2 separate regions of the Homo sapiens genome follow, and region 2 is linked to region 1. The links are contacts of gene promoters, found by promoter capture Hi-C in human tissues and cell types (Jung and others, 2019). All regions are on one chromosome and are shown on one strand. Each heading gives the region's core, a stretch centred on a gene start or on the middle of the fragment in contact. The rest is flanking DNA. Distances are from core to core; before and after follow the strand shown. Region 1 holds the start of TMPRSS6 (transmembrane serine protease 6). Region 2 has its middle 1.8 kb from the start of C1QTNF6.

Region 1 (2,914 bases), core at 298-2,797:
AGAGCAGCCAGCCGGCACCAAGAGCCCTCGTGGACCTTGAGCCCTGTCAGTGCTTGTTCACGGCCAGGCGTCCCCACACTCTTCCTTCTGCCTGGGCCCCCACCTCCCAACCTGGCCAGCTCTTATGCAGCCCCTGTCACCTCAGTTCAGACCTCACCTCTTCGCAGCTCTCCCAGAGTGCCCTAGAAGGGGCGGCTGCCCCTCGCGATGTGCAGCTTACCTGTGGGCACTCTCTCTTTGCCCCTCACATTGAACTCCTGGAAGCGGGGACTGTGCTCCAATTGCCACAGGGGCCTGAAGCAGTCCCCCAGCTCTGAGCACCATGGACCCCACCCTGGCACCTGCTCCTCACTCCCTCCTGCCCTTCTGGCCATTGGAGGGTCTCGGGTCTGCCTGCTGGAGGCTGAGCTCCTTGGGGCGGGGCCGCGACTCCCCCAGCAATGCAGATCCGGATTCAACCACTGCGTATGAACTCCTACCATGTGCCAGCCCTGTGCTGGGCAGTGCTGCAAACTCCACTGCAGCCTCCAACAGCCTGGGGTGCCTACTTTGCTGACTCTATTTAATGGCTGGGGAAACTGAGGTAGAGAGAGGTAACATGACTTACCCGAGGTCCCTCAGCCAGGGCAGAGCAGAGCAGAGCAGGGACTCTGGGCTAGGGCCATAGGGGCATCTTTCAGTGAAACCATTAGGCCCTAGAGTCCTGAGAGTGTGGGGGACTGGGTGGGGGTCCCTTCCACACATATAAACACACTCACAGACCCACAGATGTACACAGATGGAGACACGCGGAGGGATATACGCACATCTATTCATGACACAAAAATTCATAGATGCACGCCCTTCCTACACAGACACACACACGAACACACATACACATACATGCCAACTCTGAGCCTGTGAGCCCAGGGTCCTGGGCTTAAGTCAGTACATAGGTGCAATGTGGGGCTCCGGGCCTGTCTCCTACACCAGAAGGCCCAGGTGGGGTACCGGGTGTGGAGGGGGCAGCATGTCCAGTCCTGCGAGGCAGGGGTAGGGTGGCCTCTCCCTTCCTCCTGTCCCTGCCACCTGAATCCCAGGCCACCAACCACCCAGCACTGATGCTGTGCCTGTCCACACACCTGGTGTCACCCTGCGTGGTCCCTCCCCTCCCCAGCTCTGTGGGCCCCTCACCTTCTGCTCACTGATCACCCTCTGGCCGATGAGGCCCTGCAGGCCTGGCCTCGGAGCAGGGTAGGTGGCTCAGGCTGCAGGGAGCCAGGCCCAGCTCTTAGGGTGGACACTGTCACTAGGTCATTTATAGATCCCGGTCCCCTGTCCTGGAGGCCCCCGCTTACCTTTGGGAGCGGCAGATAGGTGCCGGGCCTGCACACAGGCCTCAGGAGCCTCTGTTTGTCCAGGCCAAGGCCTCCCCACCCCCACCCAGCCAGCCCAGGCTGGATCAATGGCCTAGAGCCATGACCAGGGTGTCTGGCCCTTGTCCCCTGTGGCCTGTGGCCTCAGGCTCCATGGAACTCCTCCTGCTGGGTCCTGGACAGCACTGTGACTAAGTACAGGTAAACAGGCAGGAGGTAGGAGAAGGCAGTGCCTGCCCCGCCCCATCTTCCCCCACCCCCGCATGGGCACCCCAGAGGCTGGCAGGCAGGTGCGGGAGATCTGAGCTCTCCCCCGAGGCCCGTTGCCTGGTGACATGCCTGCCTGGTTACAGCCCCTGGTCCCCGAGAGCATGAGGTAGGGACAGCCAAGGACTGGGGACTGTGCAGAGGCCGGTGCAGGTGAGTGCAGGGGCTCACAAGGGTGAGTCCAGGTGCTTACCTGGACAGGCGAGACTAAAGGAGCTGCTGGCCTGAGAGAGAGAAAAGGAGGCTGGGCCCATATACTCTGGGGACTGGAGAGGAGAAAGGGGAGGCAGGGGTGGGGTTTGATGCTATTTTCTGTTTAGCTGGGAATTATTTGAATTCCTACCTCGTTCTTTTTTTTTTTTTTTTTTTTTTTTAAGATGGAGTCTCACTCCGTCACCCAGGCTAGAGTGCAGTGGTGTGATTTCGGCTCACTGCAACCTCCGCCTCCCGGGTTCAAGCAATTCTCCTGCCTCAGCCTCCCAGGTAGCTGGGATTACAGCGCCCACCACCATGCCCGGCTAATTTTCATAATTTTAGAAGAGATGGGGTTTCACCATGTTAGCCAGGCTGGTCTCGAACTCCTGACCTCAAGTGATTCCACCCACCTCGACCTCCCAAAACGCTAGGATTACAGGCATGAGCGACCGCACGCAGCATGAATTCCTACCTGGTTCCGTAGCGCTGTGCTGTCCATGACGGTAGCCGCTGGTCACCCGTGGCTCTTGAGTCAGTCTGAACTGAGAAAAGCTGCACGGGGGAGACGCACACCAGGTTTCCAAGGCCAAGTGCAAACAGGATGTCAACCAACGCGATAACAATTTTTATATTGATTTTATGTTGAAATAACACTGGTGATCATGGGATAAATAAAATGTATTATTAAAAGCAATTTTCTTCTGGCTCTCTTGTTTTTTTTTTTTTCAGAGACAGGGTCTCATTAGGTTGCCAGGCTGGTCTGGAGCTCCTGGGCCCACATGATCCTCCTGCTTCAGCCTCCCAAGTAGCTGGGATTACAGGCGCGGGCCACCACACCCCTTGTTGCATGTGGATATTAGACAGGTTAAGTCACAAGTGTGACCTGCGTTGTTGTTCTATGGAACAGCGTTGCTGTGGAGATGGGTTTGAGCCATATGCGTGCCGAAGTGCCGGATGGGAGCCAGGGCTTTCTAGGGTGCGTGCAGGGCAGCGGGCGTCTGTCTCAGACAAGGCTGACTTTCAGCGAGTCTACATCCTGAGGCCAGAATGCGGGGTGCACGCCTGAGATGCTGTGTGCTGTGGGCATATGGGTCCCA
Region 2 (2,914 bases), core at 131-2,630, 80 kb after region 1:
CAGGGTGGGTAGCAGAGAAGGTGCAGGTGTTGGCCCTCCAGGCACAGGCTAGAATCCTGGCCCTGCTACCACAGTCGCGTCGCCTCTCAGAGCCTAGGTGTTCCAGAACTGCAGTCCTCAGCCCCCTTTGTGCCAGGCACATGGGAGGGCTTAACCCATGTTTGTTGGGTGAATGACCAGGCTGACCTCCTCAGGTATCATGCAAGTGTTACCAGAGAGGGGTACTGATCAGACCCCAAGAGAGAATTCTTGGATCTTGCACCAGAAAGAATTTGGGGTAAGTCCACAGAGCAAAGTGAAAGCAAGTTTATTAGAGAAGCAAAGAAACAAAAGAATGGCTACTCCATAGGCAGAGCACCCCCAAGCACTGCTAGTTGGCTATTTTTATAGTTATTTCTTGATCCTATGCTAAACAGGGGTGGATTATTCATGAGTTTTCCAGGAAAGGGGTGGGAATTTCCTGAAACTGAGGCTTCCTCCCCCTTTTAGACAATATAGGGTAATTTCCGGACATTGCCATGGTATTTGTAGGCTGTCTTGGTGCTGGTAGAAGTGTGTTTTAGCAAGCTAACACATTTTAATTAACATACAATGAGCAATAAGGATGACCAGATGTCACTTTCATTGCAATCTTAGATTTGGCAGGTTTTGGCTGGTTTGTTTACCGCATACTGTTTCTCAGCAGGGTCTTGATGACCTGTATCTTGTGATACCAGTCCTGCCAACTTCCTATCCCTTCCTGTGACTACAAATGCCTGACCTCCTGGGAATGCAGCCTGGCAGGTCTTAGCCTCATTTTACCCAGCCCCTATTCAAGATGGAGTTGCCCTATTTTGAACACCTCTGACATATTTCCCTACTCTCTTTTACGAGGGAACGTTTAATCTTAAGGGTTGTAGAGGCATGAAGATCCATCTTCTGTAACTTCTTCAGGCTGAATAGAGGCGATGATATTCCTGCCTAACTATTAGAGTCTCTTGGGTTTGGTGCAGAGAGGAACTGAGTAAGAAAATGTTGGTGTGTTCAGAGTCATTTGTAACTCTGAGTCCTAACAAAAGGTGATATCTGGAAGATTAATGTGTTCAATTTAAGGAAGCACTGAGTAAGCTTATCTTGCATTCTTACACAAAGAGTATAGCAGCAATATATTCTACAACAGCAAAGTAAAATAAGTAAAATTATCCCAAGTAATCCAAATAAGAAGGCTTTCCATGAACTGGGCAAGAATGCCTGTGACTTATCGGGTAAAATGAGGCTGAGACCTACTGGGCTGCATTCCCAGGAGGTTAGGCATTCTTAGTCACAGGAATTGCTAGATGAGCTGATACGGAGTTGCTAGACGATTCCAATACATGCTCAGAATTAGATACTGATCCAGATTTTTATGTTATCCATCCCTCTTGTTTCTGACGAGAAGCAGTCAAGAGATGACTGTTTGGTTCACAGAAAGAAGCAAGGTCAGTCTAAATTGCAGACAAAAAACTCAAAAACAATGGATGAGACTAGAATCTATGACAGGTGTACCATATTTTTTGAAACACCGTTTTTCTCTCTCCAGTCTCCCATTTTTTATTAAAAACAAATCATGGTAGGACCAATTTATTTGCAAAATAAGCTTTAGTCTTATTATACTTGGCTTCATTATTTGCATAAAGTGCAGCAAGTATAATTATTTGCCATACAGGCTCCTTTTAAAATTGGCTTTGTTTCATAAGGTATCTTAGATTAGATGTTTTAAAGCTTTGAGCCCAGCCATGGATTTACCTATGCCTGCAAGAACCTGTATGAGTTAGATAAATTCCTCTCCTCTTGAGGTCCCGAGATAACTCGGGGCTCCCAGGCCTGTCAGAAAGTTACATTCTTTACTTACCACAGGTCAGGAACCCTATACAGGGACTTCATACACAAGGTACAAGACCAGTTTTTCCAAGAGGCTTTTATTGGCTCTATTAGTCAACTTTAATTCCTTAAAGAAGTCTGTTTATATTTGAAAGCATGCCACTCGAGTCAAACCCTTGTTAAATAACCAGTTTCTCCAATTGTGTCCTGTTACAAAAAAAAAAAAAGAAGAAAGAAGGAAAAACAGATTCTTACTGCACTTATGCAAATAACTATATTGCCGTAAGTTAAGAACACTCACAAATAGTTTCCAAATTCTGCAGAAATCAGGTAAAGAGAAAAAAACATATTCCAAATTTTGTTTTTGGACAAAACTTTGTTTTATAATCCTTACCGGAGCGTACTTTACTCAATTGTTAAAAGCTGTAAATAGCTCAAGAAGGGGGGGTTTCTTGACTCTGAAAAACAAAACAGAAAGATCAACAACATTTTAAGCAAAAAGTCATAAAAGATTATTTCAGTCTTTTATTAGTTCAGTCTATGCAATTAATTCCTGTTTTGCTTGATATATATGTGTTAGTTTTCCAAGAGTCTTGGATGATGTTTTCTTTTTCTCTGCATTTAAGAGTACTCATCAGAGTCCTATAGCTGATTATAAACCACCTTTTGAAGAGAATAAAAGCAAGACAACAATTGTCTATGGATGACAGAAAGACTTAGAGCAGTCATGGTTAAAGAATTAATATCATTGACTAGGAAATGTGGATACCTCTGTGGCATATAATAAATTAACATCATAACAATTATAATTATTATTGATAATGTCCATTAGTATTGATAATGTTCATATCAGAATTATAGGAGTTTCCCATAATTTTGGAACACATACCAATAACATATTTATATAAACACAGCCCAAAGAAAGCCAAACACAATTTCATATTTGACAATGCTTCCTGTATTATTTTAATGTACCAAATAAGCCAAATATGTCATTTTTGGACTTTAGGGGACCTAATATCTAAAGGACTAATCAGGTTAGAAAAAGGCATAACTTAGAATTTGATTTTGGAAA

What was found. The method cuts DNA at HindIII sites, captures the fragments that hold promoters and counts their contacts. A contact is called where the count stands out against the background at its distance.
Region 2: a fragment that was not itself captured here is called in contact with the fragment with the promoter of TMPRSS6 in region 1 in 7 of the 25 tissues and cell types used here (H1 embryonic stem cells, IMR-90 fibroblasts, heart left ventricle and 4 more).

The regions. Positions count from the first base shown.
Region 1 is chr22:37,108,166-37,111,079 of GRCh38, forward strand. It overlaps TMPRSS6 (transmembrane serine protease 6), which reads right to left and starts at 1,548. Exons shown (of 18, transcript NM_001374504.1): 1 at 1,338-1,548. RefSeq lists an enhancer at 1-279. The HindIII fragment of the contact is 35,568 bases long and covers 1-2,914 here.
Region 2 is chr22:37,188,632-37,191,545 of GRCh38, forward strand. It overlaps a transcript of C1QTNF6 not described here. Among named protein-coding and RNA genes, the nearest start is that of C1QTNF6, 1.8 kb to the left of the region's middle. RefSeq lists enhancers at 1-625, 626-1,259. The HindIII fragment of the contact is 4,689 bases long and covers 1-2,914 here.